Regions from separate parts of the Homo sapiens genome. Here region 2 is linked to region 1. Evidence: promoter capture Hi-C in 16 types of primary human blood cells and fetal thymus (Javierre and others, 2016). All regions are on one chromosome and are shown on one strand. Each heading gives the region's core, a stretch centred on a gene start or on the middle of the fragment in contact. The rest is flanking DNA. Distances are from core to core; before and after follow the strand shown.

Region 1 (7,971 bases), core at 3,044-5,543:
CACGGGCCAGAGTCAGTCCATGGATGACTTTCTGGGGCACATGGTTTGTTTTTGTTCCTTTGTTTCAGAATTGAATTGTTTGCCAGCATTTTTTTTTTAAACATGGAAATTATACATGAAAATGTCTTGAGCTGGGCGCGGTGGCTCACGCCCGTAATCCCAGCACTTTGGGAGGCCAAGGCAGGTGGATCATCTGAGGTAGGGAGTTCGAGACTAGCCTGGCCAACATGGTGAAACCCCATCTCTACTAAAAATACACAAAATTGGCCGGGCGTGGTGGCGGGCACCTGTAATCCCAGCTACTTGTAAGGCTGAGGCAGGAGAATCACTTAAACCTGGGAGGTGGAAGTTGTGGTGAGTTGAGATCGTGCCATTGCACTACAGCCTGGGCAACAGAGTTAGACTCCATCTAAAACAAAACAAAAACAAACGAAAAAAAGAAAATGTCTTGAAAAATCAGATCTAGCAACAATGGGCCCACAGTCCTGCACGACAACCACCGGCTGAGTGTGATGGACCCCTGTTGCCGGGACATCAGAAGGCCAGTTTGCCCCTGCTACACCAGGGTTACCTGTCTGTCTGCTGCTGACAACTTAGTTTGAGAACCCAGGCTTTACTGGTAAGATAGACACAGACACAACTATTTATGGCTCAAAACAGAGGGCAGTGAGTATTGTAGCTTAGGACAGTGGTTCTCCATAGAGGTGATTTAGTACCCTAGGGGACAGTGGCAATGTCTGAAGACATATTTTGGTTGTTGCAACTTGAGGAGGGTGCCATGGCATCTCGTGGGTGGAAAGCAGGGGTACTGCTCCATATCCTGCAGTGCACACGACAGCCCCCACGACAAAGATTATCCAGCCCCAGTGTCAGTAGGGCTGAGGTTGGGAAACTGTGGATTAGGGGCACCACCAAACTGGTCTGGAAGGAAGAGGTTAATTCCAGTGGTGGGGCTCAACAAAGGCTCTGTGAAGAGAAGAGGTCTTGCTGCTGAGCAGGCACTTGATGACTAAGCCAGGTTTCAACTGAGAGCGACTGAGGGGGAGGCATGTCAGGCAGAGAACAAACAACACAAGCAAAGGTCTAGAGGCACCTTTGATGGGTGGAGGTGGGTGAGAGTGTGAACAGTGAGATGGAGCCTGTAGTTCAAGATACATGAAGTTTGGGGTCAGGTGGATTTGGGTTTGAGTTCTGACTCTGCCACTCACTAGCCATGTGGCTTCAGGCTTGTCATTGGCTTGAACCTCAGTTTCATCATCTGTAAAATGGGGATAAGACATGAGGTTATGTAGAGCCAGACTCATCTATCCCCAGTCCTCCATTTCTACTCTGTGTCCCAGCCATCCTTAACTACTGGCAGTTTGCTACATGCTTCTTGCTTTGTCTCCCCTGTCTGGCCCCTCCATGTGCAGTTCCCTCTGCCTGGAATGCTCACATGCCAGATGTGTGGATTACACCATCAAGGTGTTATAAACCCGGTGCTGACATGCTAAGACTTGTGTTTTGAAAAGATCACTCTGCCAGCAACATGGTGTTGGGCTTGTGGGAGCAGGTGCAGGGAATCTGGAGGCCAAGGGAATGATGGGGGATTCCCAGGCTCATACAAGAAGCCTGGGGGCTTCTCCCTTCACGCTAACTCCCTTCTCCGTCACTTCTCTGTCCTTAAGGTACCTCGGGGGAAGGTCAGTGAGGACCCACCAGGCATGAACGGGTTGGATTCTCTCTTGGTTAATGTTCCTGCTCCTTTCTCAGCCTAGGAGCCTGGTTACTTCATAGGTCAGGGTTGAGGTGTTGTATTAGTCTGTTCTCACACTGCTATAAAGAACTGTCCAAGACTGGGTAATTTATAAAGGAAAGAGGTTTAATTAACTCCAGTTCCGCAGGGCTGGGAGGCCTCAGGAAACTTACAATCATGGCAGAAAGGGAAGCAAACGTCCTTCTTTATGTGGCAGCAGGAAGAAGTAGTGCCGAGCAAAGGGGGAAAAGCACCTTATAAAACCATCAGATCTTGTGAGAACTCACTCACTATCACGAGAACAGCATGGGAGTATCCGCCCCCATGATTCAATTACCTACCACGGGGTCCTTCCCACGATATGTGGGGATTATGGGAAGTACAATTCAACATGAGATTTGGGTGGGGACACAGCCAAACCATATTAGGTGTAGAGGCCAAAACCTCATAGAGGCTACTGAGAGTCTATGGGCCAGCCCTCTAGCTTCCTTAAGCCTCAGTTTCCTCACCTGTGTGGAACAGTCTTTTCAGGGTCTGTGGGGGTACATGGGATACTTCCTACAAAGTTCTTACAATAGGACCTGGCTCAATTTTATAAAAATGAAGCTCTTGGCCGGGTGCGGTGGCTGACGCCTGTAATCCCAGCACTTTGGGAGGCTGAGCGGGCAGATCACGAGGTCAGGAGTTTGAGACTAGCCTGGCCAGTATGACGAAACCCCGTCTCTACTAAAAAATACAAAAATTAGCCAGGCGGGTGGCGTGTACCTGTAGTCCCAGCTACTCAGGAGGCTGAGGCAGGAGAATCACTTGAACCTGGGAGGCGGAGGTTGCAGTGAGCTGAGATGGCACAACTGCACTCCTGCCTGGGTGACACAGCGAGACTCCGTCTCAAAAAAAAAAAAAAAAAAAAATCAAGCTCTTGCTGAATACTCTCTGAATGCCTGGTACTGCAGGAGGCCCTGGGAACTCAAAGTTTCTCTTAAGAACTGACCTTGACTTTAAGGATTGCCTGATTTAGGATCTGTGGACTTTGCTGACTGGGGACATCCAATTTTTAGGGAGAGATTCCTGGGAATTTTATTTGAAGGATGCACAAAAAGATTTAGCTTTTACGGGTGGATCACGAGGTCAGGAGATCGAGACCATCCTGGCTAACACGGTGAAACCTCGTCTCTACTAAAACAAAGTACAAAAAATTAGCTGGGCGTGGTGGCAGGCACCTGTAGTCTCAGCTACTCGGGAGGCTGAGGCAGGAGAATGGCGGGAACCTGGGAGGCGGAGCTTGTAGTGAGCCCAGATGGCGCCACTGCACTCCAGCCTGGGTGACAGAGTGAGACTCCGTCTCAAAAAAATAAATAAATAAATAAATAAAAAAGATTTATCTTTTAAGTAGGTCCACAGTGGATATATTTATAAAGTGAAAAATTGGAAATAGCCTTAATGTCCAACTGTAGGATATTGGTTTAATATGTGATAAGACAAATCGAGTATTATGCAGTCATTCAAGAGGAAGCAGATGGATATTTGCTGATACAGAAAGATGTTCATTATTAAGTGAAAACAATATACAAAACACTATTTGTATATCAGTAATAGGCCAGGCATGGTGGCTCACGCCTGTAATCCCAGCACTTTGGGAGGCCAAGGAGGCAGGATTGCGTGATCCCAGGAGTTCCAGACCACCTTGGGCAACATGGTAAGACCCTGTCTCTACAAAAAATACAAAAATTAGCTGGACGTGGTGGTGCACGCCTGTAGTCCGAGATACTTGGGAGGCTGAGGTAGGAGAATCACCTATGCCCGGGAGGTGAACGTTGTAGTGAGCCGTCACTGTGCCACTGCACTCCATCCTGGGCAACAGAGTGAGACCCTGTCTCAAAAAAAATACACACACATATTTTAAAGCCTAAAGGCTAATATACCCCAAAATTAACAGTGGGTATCTATAAGCGGCTTTTACAATTATTTTCTTGTTCTACATTTTTCCCCTATTTTTTTTACAATAAATGTGCATTTCTTGTCTGAAAAATAGCAATATATTTTATTAACCTTAAAATTATTTGATGCTATTAAAATATAACTGAAAATAATAATAAAAGAAAAGGCAAGTTTGCCAGCTCTCCCCGTCTCCCTCCCCAGCCTTATCTCCTGACTGGATTCTTGCTCACTCCCAATAAACACGGACTCTTAATTCGTTTCAGTATTTACTAACCTCAAAACAAGGCAATGTAAAGATGAATAATCATACTCTGTAGGTGATCTGCATCCACGCCAAATTTTGAGATGCGTTGAAAGAGGAAGTTCTTTACCTCTCTGCCTTCAATTATTTATTCTCGTTTAACCCATTTCCTCCGTTCATTCCTAACTTGAGGGCGTTTATTTACTTTTATCTACGCATGCGCACTCCTGGCTGCTAGAGAGGGCCTCTTCGCCCGGCGGTCCCGCCTTCTGACGTCGACCATTGGCCGGCTCTGCCAGCGCGCTCCTGATTGGTGGCTGAGGGCCGGGCCCCGCTGCTTCTCAAAGTTGGCGGGAAAGCGGAGGCGGGGCGGAAGGGTGCGGCGAGGCGGAATGGCGGCGGCTGCGGACTCGTTCTCAGGCGGCCCCGCGGGGGTGCGGCTTCCGAGGTCGCCGCCACTCAAGGTGCTGGCGGAGCAGCTGCGGCGCGACGCGGAGGGCGGCCCGGGCGCGTGGCGGCTGTCACGGGCGGCGGCGGGCCGCGGGCCGCTGGACCTGGCGGCCGTGTGGATGCAGGGCAGGGTAGTGATGGCGGACCGCGGCGAGGCTCGGCTGAGGGACCCGAGCGGGGACTTCTCGGTCCGCGGCCTGGAGCGGGTGCCGCGCGGGCGGCCCTGTCTAGTCCCAGGTAATGCCCGGGCCTTACCGGGCGCCCTCTTCCCTGCTGCCCGCCGAGAAGTTGCCGAGGCCAGATTCGATCTTGTTGTTGACACTCGAACGGGGGCGGGGCGGGTCTGGCCCTCCTCCGGGCCTCTGCCCCTGCGGGTCCCCGCTTGGGTACCCTTGCTCCGGTCCCTCCTTGGTGAAGTTGATCTGATGATAAGCATCACCTGCCGTCCCTTTTACAAATACAGATTCCTGGGACTCTCCCACCCCTAGTGGGAATCTTCTGGGGAGGGACTCCGGCACCTTCGTTTGTCACAAGCCCCCTCTCCCAGTTGATATCCTTGTTTTGGGAAATACTGTCCTGGGAAACTTCTGCTCATCCTTAACGTCTCAGCTCAAATGTGCCTTTCTCAGGGAAGTCCTCCCTAGCCCCTAGGAACGGGAGACCCTCCTGTACTTCTCCTTAATTGAACTGTCTTGGGCTGTAGCTCACTCATGTTTGCCTCCTCTCTTTTTTTTTTTTTTTTTTTTTTGAGACGGAGTCTCACTCTGTCGCCCAGGATGGGGTGCAGTGGCGCGACCTCAGCTTACTGCAGCCTCCACCTCCCGAATTCAAGCGATTCTCATGCTTCAGCCTCCCGAGTAGCTGGGATTACAGGCATGTGCCACCACACCCGGCTAATTTTTGTATTTTTTAGCAGAGACTGGGTTTTGCCATGTTGGCCAGGCTGGTCTCGAACTCCTGGCCTCAAGTGATCTGCTCATCTCGGCCTCCCAAAGTGCTGGGATTACAGACATGAGCCGCTGCGCCCTGCCTGCTTCCTCTCTTAAACCACTGATGCTCAAACTTGAGCCAGCATCAGTCTCTCCTGGAGGGCTTGGTAAAGCTGGGATGGCTGGGGCTCCACCCTCAGGGTTTGTGAGTCAGGAGGTCCAGGTGGGGCTGGAAATTTGCATTTCTAACCAGCTCCCAGGTGATGCTGATGCTGCTGGTCTGGGGACCATACTTTCGACTTTTTAAATGTTTTATTTATTTGAGATAGGGGACTCACCGTGTTGCCCAGGCTGGCCCTGAGCTCAAGCAATCCTCCTGCGTCAGCCTCCTTGGGTAGCTGGGACTACAGGCCTGTACCACCACGCCTGGTTTGGGGGCCATACTTTGAGAACCACTGGGCCAGCCCAAGCTACTGGAGGGCCAGAGCTGTGTGGTCCTGACAACTGTATCCTCAGCATCTGGCCCAGTTCCTGACACATAAGTGCTCCAAGAACCAATAGTCTTGAGTGATAGGCAATGGGCATCCATCTCACTTGTTCCCTGGGATGTCAGTTGAGCACGTGTTGTACATCAGCCCCTCATGTGCAGTGTTGGGCTGCAGCCGAGACCTAGATAGAGTCTGCTGGGAGACAGGCAGTGAGCAAGTGTCGCAGAGGATCGCTGATCTTTGGGGAGCCATGAGGATGTGCAAGGTGCTGAGTGGCCCGGGGAGGCTTCTAGAGGATGTGAGGTCTAAGCTGAGGAGCTCTGAGGCTCCATGGGCCTTCCCTCACCTCAGCTCCCTCTCCTGGGAAATCAGGCCAAGATCACTTCATTCCTAAGGGCCCTTCCTGCTCAGTCTTGGAGTCTAACTAGAGGCAGATAGGGCTGTGGTCTGGCCTGAGCTGCTGTGGACTCGGAAAGGCTTAGGTCGAATTTCTGGTTCCACCCCTTCCCAACTGAGCTGCCTGGAGCACTCTTGTTAACTTTTCTGGACTTGTACTATTTTGTAAAAAGGAGCTAATCATTCCTGCGTGTTGTGTGGATTCAATAAGTAAACAACTGCCTTAGTACTGCACCTGGCTCACAGTGAGGATGCAAAATATCAGGACTCGTTTACTGCCACATGCTCCTGTTCCGTCTTCCCACTGCCTTACCCATCAGCCTTCCCTCTGTCTGCCTGCCCTCAGCCGCAGCGTTGGTCTAGGACAGGGTCAGCAAACTACAGGCCTCCTCTTTTCATGTGTCCTGCGAACTAAAAATGCTTTTAAAATTTTTATGTATTACTATTATTATTTTTGAGACAGAATCTCGCTCTGTCTCTCAGGCTGGAGTACAGTGACGCAGTCATGGCTTGCTGCAACCTCCACCTCCTGGGTTCAAGCGATTCTCATGCCTCAGCCTCCCGAGTAGCTGGGATTACAGGTGTGCACCACCACACCCGGCTAATTTTTGTAGTTCTAGTAGAGATGGGGTTTCAACATGTTGGCTAGACTGGTTGGTCTGGAGCTCCTGGCCACCTTGGCCTCCCAAAGTGCTGGGACTGCAGGTGTGAGTCATTGCACCTGGCAGGATTTCACATTTTTAAATGGTTGAAAAGAAAATCGTGATATGTGAAAAGTATATGAAATTCAAGCATCAGTGTTCATAAGTTAAGTTTTATTGGAATACATTGGTAATTTACAGAATGTCTCGGGCCGCTGTCCCACCCCAGCTAGAATTTTATCTGGGACAGAGACCCTATGGCGGGAAAAGCCCAAAATATTTGTCTCGCCCTTTACAGAAAAAGTTTGCCAACCCTTGGCCTTAGCCTTGGCCCAGCAAGTAACCCATGCTGCTTGGTGTGTTGGTTTGCAGGCAAAGCACCTTGCAGGCAGGCTGGGGCAGTCTCCTATCTGGTCTCAGCCCTGGCATAAGCCTGGCATCTAGTAAATAAGTGTTTGAACCCATGGGCATTGGTGAACCTGTCTGACATACCCACTGGCCTGAATGCCAGCTGGCAGGGGCCATGTCATTTCTTCTTGTTAATTAATACTGAGTCCAGCTTGACAAAATTGAGTCACTGCCATCAGGGAGGCAGGGAGGTAAGCGGGCCACTAAAACACAAAGTAACATTGCAGGCAAGAGTGAGGTGGCGCAGAGGAGGGACAGCTGATCTAGGTTTGAGGGCTCAGGGAAGGCTTCCTGGAAGAGGCAGCCCTGAAGGATGCATTGGAGTTATCTGTAAGGACCAACCCTCCTGGGTTGCCTGGGACTGAGAGGGTCCTGGGACGTGGGACTTTCAGTGTTAAAACTGGGACACTTGGGCACCCTCTGTCTGTGTGCAGTGGCAGGAGATTGTGCAGCTCCATGGAGCAGCCTGTGCAAAGGCTTGAAGGGGATAGAGCCGCGTGCCTTTGGGGAGCCTGGGGCAGTGGTGGAAGGTAGGAGGGCTCTATCCTGATGAGCCTCATTGGCTGTCTGGAAGGACCTGCCTGCTTCAAGATGGCCTTGAACTCTGCTCACTGCACTGCTGCTGTAGTGCTGTTCCTCCACCGCCTCTTCCTCTGGAACATCCAGGAGTTTGTTTCCATAAACCTAAGGTGCTGAAGAGGCAGAGTTGAAGGAGAAGCTCTTCCTGCCCTCAAGCTGCTCTCTG
Region 2 (7,971 bases), core at 3,053-5,552, 190 kb before region 1:
GACTCCCAGGCCAGTGCTCCATCCCCTGTATGGCCAGGAAAGCACAGCCATCTTGTAGGACCAGGAGCAGTTCAAATAATGAGCCAACGGCTGGCACCCTTTCTCCGAGCACAGCGATGCACCAGAATGCTCTCCCTCCTGTGACAGGTGATGTGCGCTTCAGCTCAGGCCCAGAAGAGCCACAAAAGAGAAGCTCCAGCAGTTCTGTGTAGGAGGCAGGATGTACTTCTATCCATAGAAGGGCTCTCATGATTATTTATTAATTGTGAAAGGGAAGAAAAAACTAATAGAGTTTCCCGGAAAGGGATACAAGTTCAATATGATAAACTCCCAAAAAGCAATCAAAGGCCAAAGAGGGCAGAAAAATAAAGGACAGGGAGAAAGAGAGATGGTGAATCAAAGTGGCCAGTATGTTAGCAGAGGCCAGGGGAGGGGCCAGGCTTCACAGCCAGGGAGGTGTGGGGCTGTCGGAGCACAAGTCACCAGTGGTGGTGAGTCAGGCAGGCAGCGGGACTTGACCCCATGGGGTCACTGAGGCCCTGGGGATGAGCTGATAACAGGAATGGATGGAACCGGTCAGCTGTTTTGCTATTACTGCAGACCCGTTGTATTAATTTTTGTGCATTAATACATGAACGTAGAATATTATAAATGAAAACTGAGAAGCTACAGGAAGAAGAAATCACAATCCTATCAACCCAGAAGAAAGCATTGTTAATATTTCTGTTTATTTTCCACTTCTGTCTTCCCTGTTTTGTCTCTTTCTCTCATTTAAAAAAAAAAATACATGAGTTGATTGTTGATTTTTGAAAAAATCAGGCTGGGCACAGTGGCTCATGCCTGTAATCTCAACACTTTGGGAGGCTGAGGCAGGCAGATTGCCTGAGCTCAAGAGTTCAAGACCAGCCTGAGCAACATGGCAAAACCCCATCTCCACTAAAAATATAAATAGCTGGGCATGATGGTGCCCACCGGTAATCCCAGCTACTTGGGAAGCTGAGACATGAGAATGGCTTGAACCTGGGAGGCAGAGGTTGCAGTGAGCCAAGATCACACCAGTTCACTCCAGCCTGGGTGACAAAGTGAGACTGTCTTAAAAAAAAAAAAAAAATTGCAACATTGCAGGTGCGACTTAAGACCCCATCAGTTACCACCCTTCCTCAGTCATCATTTGCCTTATTTTTATTTTTCCAGACCCTTCTCTGTGCAGTTGCATTTCATACATGTGCCAGAGCTGATGAACAGAACAGAGCCACCACCCCTTCTCTGCAATTCTGAAACCCAAACAGCTCTGAAAATCAAAATATTTTTCCTAACTCGTATGATGGCAAAACCAAAACCTGCCTTCAGGTATTTATGGGCGGGTTTATTAGAGTCATTGATGCCAGTAATTGTGAGTTTATGTTTTCGTTTCTGCAAAAATTCAGTGTTTGGTTTTAGCTGCTCACGACCCAGCTGACAGTGTAACGTAATACCTATGTGTGCCCTACATGGCCTTTTACCTCCTAAAGATTCTAAATTCCAAGACATATCTGGCCACAGAGGTTTAGGATAAGGAGTTAAGTATGGATCTGTAATTGTGTTAAGGTTTGGGCTTCCCTTAAATAAAATCATAATTCTGTATACCCTGCTGCACCTTGCTCTTTTCAGACACCACTGTAAATCAGGAATCTGTGTTAGCACTTACAGATTTCACACATTCCTTTTCACGGCTGCATAGTATTCCAAAGCTTGGCTACTTGCGTTTCTTTGGCTGAGTGATTCAGTCATCCTAGTCTTTTTCTATCCCGGGCAGCGTTGCAGTGGGCATCCTTGGGCACACCTCTCTCTGTGTGCACGTGCAGTACAAGAAGCAGAACTGCCAAGTCACAAGGTTTTGTTTTCACAACATTGCCATCATGTCAGAAGCACTTCCCTGTACTGTAAAATGCCTCTTCTAAACTTCATTCTTGATGACTGCATAATAGTCCATTGTCTGAGTGTTAGTTTCCTGAGGTGGCCATAACAAAGTCCCACAAACTGGGTGGCATAAACAGCAGAAATTGATTGTCTCACAGGTCTGGAGGGTAGAAGTGCAAAATCAAGGTATTGGCAGGGCTGGTTTCCTCTGAGGGGTGTGAGGAGGACTCTGGTCCAGGCCTCCCTCCTTGGCTTCTGGTGTTTTGCTGGCAATCTTTGCTACTTTTTGGCTCATAGAAGTATCACCCCAGTCTTGCCTTCATCTTCACGTGATGTTCTACCTGTGTGAAAATCTGCGTCCAAATTTTCATTTTTTAGGAGGCACAGACATATTGGATTAGGACCAAACCTAATGACCTCATTTTAACTAATTGCATCTGTAAAATGACCCCATTTCCAAACGAGGTCACATTCTGAGTCTGAGGTACTAGAGGTTAGGACTTCAACCTAAGAATTTGAAGGGGACACAGTGAAACACAAAACAGTCTGAATTTGCCAGATTTTACTTAATCCGCTTATACTGGCCACTTACGTTGTTTCTACTACCTTATGAAGCACCCTATGACAAACATCCTTATTCAGAAATCTTGGTCTACATTTCCAATTATTCCTCCAGAAACCATTCCTTAGAGTCAGGGGGACTGTCCATTTGTCAGGCTCTGGGTGGCACCTTGCCAAATTGCCTTCCAGAAAGCAGAGTAGGGGGATGCCCACCTGGTCACACCTGGGCCCTTGTCTTCATTCACCTGGGCTCTCAGATGACTCCTGCCCAGTGCTCCAGGCTGAAGTCCTCTGCACATATGTGTGCGCCTCTGCCAGCATGTGCACAGGCATTGTTTCTATCAAGTCACTTTTTTATTTCTCATTCCTGCCAAAAAGAGAGAGAGTCTATGGGTTAATAGCAAAGTAGAAACCGTAGCTCAAAATGTCTGTTTGGGGCATGTACTCTTGCATCTGTATAGATGAATAGAGATTTCAGAAATACTGGGCCCTCTGGGCCTCAGGCATTAAATCAATCAGTGCAATTTCACTCACAGGGCAGCTTGCCAAGGGAGCCCAGGAGAGAGTAGCGACTTCTCTGATTTAGTTCAGTCCGTTAAGCTCATGGCAGCCTGCACCAGCTCACTGTTGCAAAAGGCAATCAAGTAATGAGTACTCAGCCACTTTCGGGGGGCGGGGGCCGGCTGGGGAAGGGGCTCTCTGGAGCCTTTCAAATGGAGCCAACTTTTGATAGCTTTTTAGGGTAGTTCTGAGAGCTGGAGACGGGTGAGGAACCCGGGAAGTGAGAGCTTAATTAACGGAACTACAGAGAATGAGGCAGCAAAGGAATCTCTCAGAGAACCAGGGGGTTTTGTGTGTGTGATGAGCAAAAGGATAGAACTAGGTGCTTGAGTACTGCCGGCTAGGAACCAGCATTGAACAGCAGATGCCTAACTCAGCACAGCAAGGGCCAGCTTAGCACAGAGACCAGAGAGCAAGATGCGCGGAAGGATAAATTTAGCCTGCATTTCAGGGGAAAACATCGATCTCAAATGTAGTGCTGTCTTTTAAAAGAAAGTGGAAGCCTTAGGCCGGTCATCTGGGACAATTTCACTTGAACAGCTAAAAGCCCAGGAAAAACGAGTGCTCATAACCAGCTCATGCTGCTAGCACACCCACAAGATCTTCCCTCTGCAGGCGGGCGGCTGGTGTCTGCATGGGTCTGACAGATGGTCCTCCTGCTACCCTTATCTGTTCCCAGGAAAAGGTGCTGCCTTGTTTTCTGGAGAGATTTGGGGTTTCTATTTCTGATCCCAAATGTTCATCTTCATGAGGAATGACGGGGGGCCCAAGCTCTGTGTTTGCTCAGCTGCTGGTCCAGGACATTGACATCTGGTGGGTTGCACCTGTCAGAGCAGGGCCAGTGCCAATCCCCTCTGTTGTCTAGAAGCTGAGCAAAAGACATCAGTTACTGGTGTCTGTAGATAGGGTTGTTTTGTTTGTTTTTAACCAGGTCCCCTGTAGCATTCACACAGCATCCTGAGCATTGTTTCTACCTGGTCAAAGCTAAGGGCACCACTGTGGTCCCAAATAATAGAGCACCTGTCCTAATGACGTTCCCACAATCTCGCCAGTCAGGTGGTGACGGCATCTTTCCTCCAGCCTCCCTCTGACACTGCTCCCCTGTGTCAAAGGGGAAGAAAGTCCAGTCTGTCAATATTTGGGGCACTAATCATCTGCGTTCGGGCGCCAGGGGTCATTGAAAGGCTGAGACGCTTCCAGGAATTCATGGCTCTAAAACCGTGGGGCTGACTGGAAAGGATCTCCAGCGAGGGTATGAAGAAAGAAACCCAAATCTCCACTCCACCCCGACCCCGCAGCCTCTGAGCATTGTCCATTGTGTCTTGGGTTCTTGGGAAGAAATGAAGTCAATGCACATAGTGATGTGGGCCCAAGTTAATAATAAATGTAGAGGAAGGAGAAAGGATGTTCAATATTTAAACATTTCAGAGCGCTGTGTTTGTTTGCCAGTTACTGCCCTCCGCCTGCTTCCTGGATGGGTTCTGTAAAACGGAGCCTTCCTTCCCCAACTGTGCAATTGGCATCTGACACCAGCGATTTACATAGAAAGGGAAATGGTGCCTTTTCTAGGTAGTCCCCGTGCCAGCAGGACTCCTTCTCGTTTTCTGTTGCCTTTCTTGAAGGAAGAGGATGACAACATAGAAACTAAGGTTTTTATGACCCCTGGAGCACTTGTGAGGAGTTGACAGCTTTAGGGTCATGTCCAGAGTTGTCTTAATTTTCCCAGATTTGCTTCTTTGAAACTGTCTCATATTTTAACATAAATGTTGTGCTTTGGTTCTTACCTCTAACAGATTAAAAAGGCTAAACAATGAAACGTACAGTTGTGTTTAAGAAACGTCACTCTAAGTATACATACTAGATACGTTCCTTAAAAGTTGCCTGTAATGCAGAATTCTGTGAATCAATTCCTCCTTTCTTCTTGACGCACATTATAGAAAAGGAAAAGCATTCCTTCTGGGGGAGGGAAAAACATCTGACCCCAAGACATAATAAAATCATGCTTAAGAATACAGTAAACTTTAAAGTCTCTTAGTTAAAGGAAATCAATACTTTTATGATGAAATATTAATAATACTAAAAAAATAAGTCAAAACTACAAATGCATAATAGCTAGGGTGATTTTTAATGTTGGACACATTAGCTCAGCATTTGTGAGGAGGAACAAAGGGAAAAGAGAGCAACCTAGCCCATTTGAGAAGCCCTTCTGGTTCCTAATAAGTCCCCTTTTTGTGGGTCATCTGTCAAGAAGACACACACCTCCCCATAAGTGCCAACCTTATTTCTAAGCATTTTGTTGAAGCTACCGATTTTGGAAATGAAAGGATGAATGTAGCTGGAGAGAGGAACACACACAGGTGTGTACACACGCACACTCCTGCACACACATGCGCAGACAGGGCAAAGAGAAATGGAGAATTGGGGAAAGCCATTTATTTGTTTGAATACACTGCTGGCTGTTCCCTCCGTCCCCATCCTCCATGAATTATTCTGGTAGGGATCTTTAAGAGGGATGGACTTAGAGTAGATTGAACCATATGAAATGGCTGTTTCTGTAGGTCAAGTTAGTTGAATATTGGCAGTTGCATATGGTTCAAGCTCATCCATTCAACTCTCTATCAAAGAAATGCAAATAGAATAGTCATGTGTCTTGAATGCAGTGTAACATGAGGTTTTTAAGAATCTAGATGAAAATAACTTCATTTTTCTCGTAAACGATTTTCATATAAATCCTTTAAACCTAGATATTTAAAGTTCCTTTAGAAAGGCTCTCTCATGTCTCACTTTGTTAACTCCTAAAATCTTCAGTCATAACAGCTAATGTGAGGAAGACTTTTGTTTTGTGTTGCGTTCTTTTCTCCAAAGAGCTGGGCCATTTCTTTTGCTACATACCCCTTTGTCTAAAGACACTTACGAAAATGAAAGTCCCAGGACAGGCGTGGGGGCTCACATCTGTAATCCCAGCACTTTGGGAGGCTGAGGTGGGCGGATCACCTGAGGTCAGGAGTTCGAGACCAGCCTGACCAACATGGTGAAACCCCATTTCTACTAAAAATACAAAAAAATTAGACAGGTGTGGTGGCAGTTGCCTATAATCCCAGCTACTTGGGAGGCTGAGGTAAGAGAATCACTTGAACCTGGGAGTCGGAGGTTGTAGTGAGCTGAGATCGTGCCATTGCACTCCAGTCTGGGCAACAGAGCGGGACTCCATCTCAAAAATAAATAAATAAATAAAACCCACCACTACAAAAAACAGAAAAATTACCCAGGTGTGGTGGTGTGCACCTGTAGTCCCAGCTACACGGGAGGCTGAGGTGGGAGGATCAGCTGAGCCTGGCGAGGTCAAGAGGCTGCAGTGAGCCGGGATCATGCCACTGCACTCCAGGCTTGGTGACAGAGTGAGACCCTGTCTCCAAAAAAAGAGAAGAAAATCCCAGTTATTGCCTCATTGGGCCCAAGTTCCAGGCACCGTAAATTCCAGCCGAGGAATCAAAACAGCGAGTGCTACCTGAACATTTAGATTGCGTTAATGCTTTCATCCTCACGAACCCTGTAAGGTGTGGTGGTGTCACTCTGCTTTAGAGTGACAACAGTGCTTTAGAGGACACAGGCTCGTGGGGTGAACAGGTCCCCTGCTGTCACATGCCCAGAGCCACGGCACTCTCCTCACCACCGTATCCTGTAGCCAGAGTAAAAGTGACAAGCCTAAAGCCAAGTTGCTGCTCTTCAGGTTTCTCCCCTGCAGATAGCAGAAGGCTCGTGTCCAGCCGTCCGGTTAGCCATGTCCCACAGGTCTGCCAGGGCAGACGTCAACAGAGCCCTGTCCACTTAACAACCTCAGCTGTGGGTTTTTGAAGCTTGTTCTGTGCTGTTATCCATCACGGCCTTTCTGTGGCTCCGCACATACTCCCTGATTCTATCTGACTCACATAGTTCCAGATAGTATCTTCAGTTCTTGTTGTAGATGATGTGTCATAGAACGTCATCAGCCATCGGTCTGGCCTAGCCCCAATCTGTTAAAACACACGGTAGGAGAGACTTTGGTGAGGTGACCCAGCTGCAGAAGTTAACTACCCCACCCTGCAAAGTCGGAGTCCTGGCGAACACAAGCAAATGGAATGGGTCCACAGGCATGGTGCTCTCTGCCTTGGGTGCATACTAAGTATGTGTCAACGGCAGGTGCCTTTTGCAGAGAATCAAGACTAATTCCCTGGCCCCTTTGTACAGTGCCACCTCCTAGAACACACGGAGCAGGCCAAACATGTCAGTGTAGGATACACACTGTACGGCCTCCCTGCTTCTGGCCAAAAAGGTCAAAATGGGGCTGATGGGATAAGAGACTTGCTGGGGAAGAATCTGGCGCTCCTGGCCGGGCATGGTGGCTCATGCCTGTAATCCCAGCACTTTGGGAGGCCAAGACGGCTGGATCACCTGAGGTCAGGAGTTTGAGACCAGCCTGGCCAACATGGTGAAACCCATCTCTACTAAAAATACAAAAACAAAAAAAATTAGTGGAGCATGGTGGCGCACACCTGCAGTCCCAGCTACTTGGGAGGCTGAGGCAGGAGAATCACTTGAATGCGGGAGGCAGAGGTTGCTCTGAGCCAGGATTGTGCCACTGCACTCCAGCCTGGGTGACAGAGTGAGACTCCATCTCAAAAAAAAAAAAAAAAAACACAACTAATCTGCCACTCCTTGGCCAGCCAGAACCTTGGGGGGCCATCCTTTGCAAGCAGGGCCATAGTGACCCACCCTGCTCCTGGTGCATTCCTGATTCTGCTCCAGCTGGGGTCAGTGAGCGCCTGTGCCTGGGAGTCTCCTGGGTGCTGTCTAACCCGCCTTCCTCCTGCTGCCGTTTCAGCCCTGCTGACTGCCGCAGTAGAGAGGCAGCCCAGATGGCCGCTCCCAAGCTTGCTAGTGCCTTGGCTGACAGACTGTTGTGGAGGTCTT

Evidence for each region. Contacts are between HindIII fragments. The CHiCAGO score rates a contact against its expected background, and 5 or more counts as called.
Region 2: a fragment that was not itself captured here is called in contact with the fragment with the promoter of RMI2 in region 1 in 1 of 17 cell types (activated CD4 T cells); the score reaches 6.0 in activated CD4 T cells.

Annotation. Positions count from the first base shown.
Region 1 is chr16:11,341,166-11,349,136 of GRCh38, forward strand. RMI2 (RecQ mediated genome instability 2) reads left to right here and starts at 4,294. Exons shown (of 2, transcript NM_152308.3): 1 at 4,294-4,601. The coding sequence starts at 4,307. All of the region lies in intron 1 of LOC105371082 (a long non-coding RNA gene), which reads left to right. LOC105371083 (a long non-coding RNA gene) reads right to left here and starts at 4,047. Exons shown (of 2, transcript NR_135174.1): 1 at 3,948-4,047; 2 at 644-1,258. RefSeq lists silencers at 4,363-4,522, 4,543-4,622. The HindIII fragment of the contact is 15,776 bases long and covers 1-7,971 here.
Region 2 is chr16:11,148,692-11,156,662 of GRCh38, forward strand. The region is part of intron 22 of CLEC16A (C-type lectin domain containing 16A); the gene reads left to right. Among named protein-coding and RNA genes, the nearest start is that of SOCS1, 100 kb to the right of the region's middle. The HindIII fragment of the contact is 5,148 bases long and covers 1,729-6,876 here.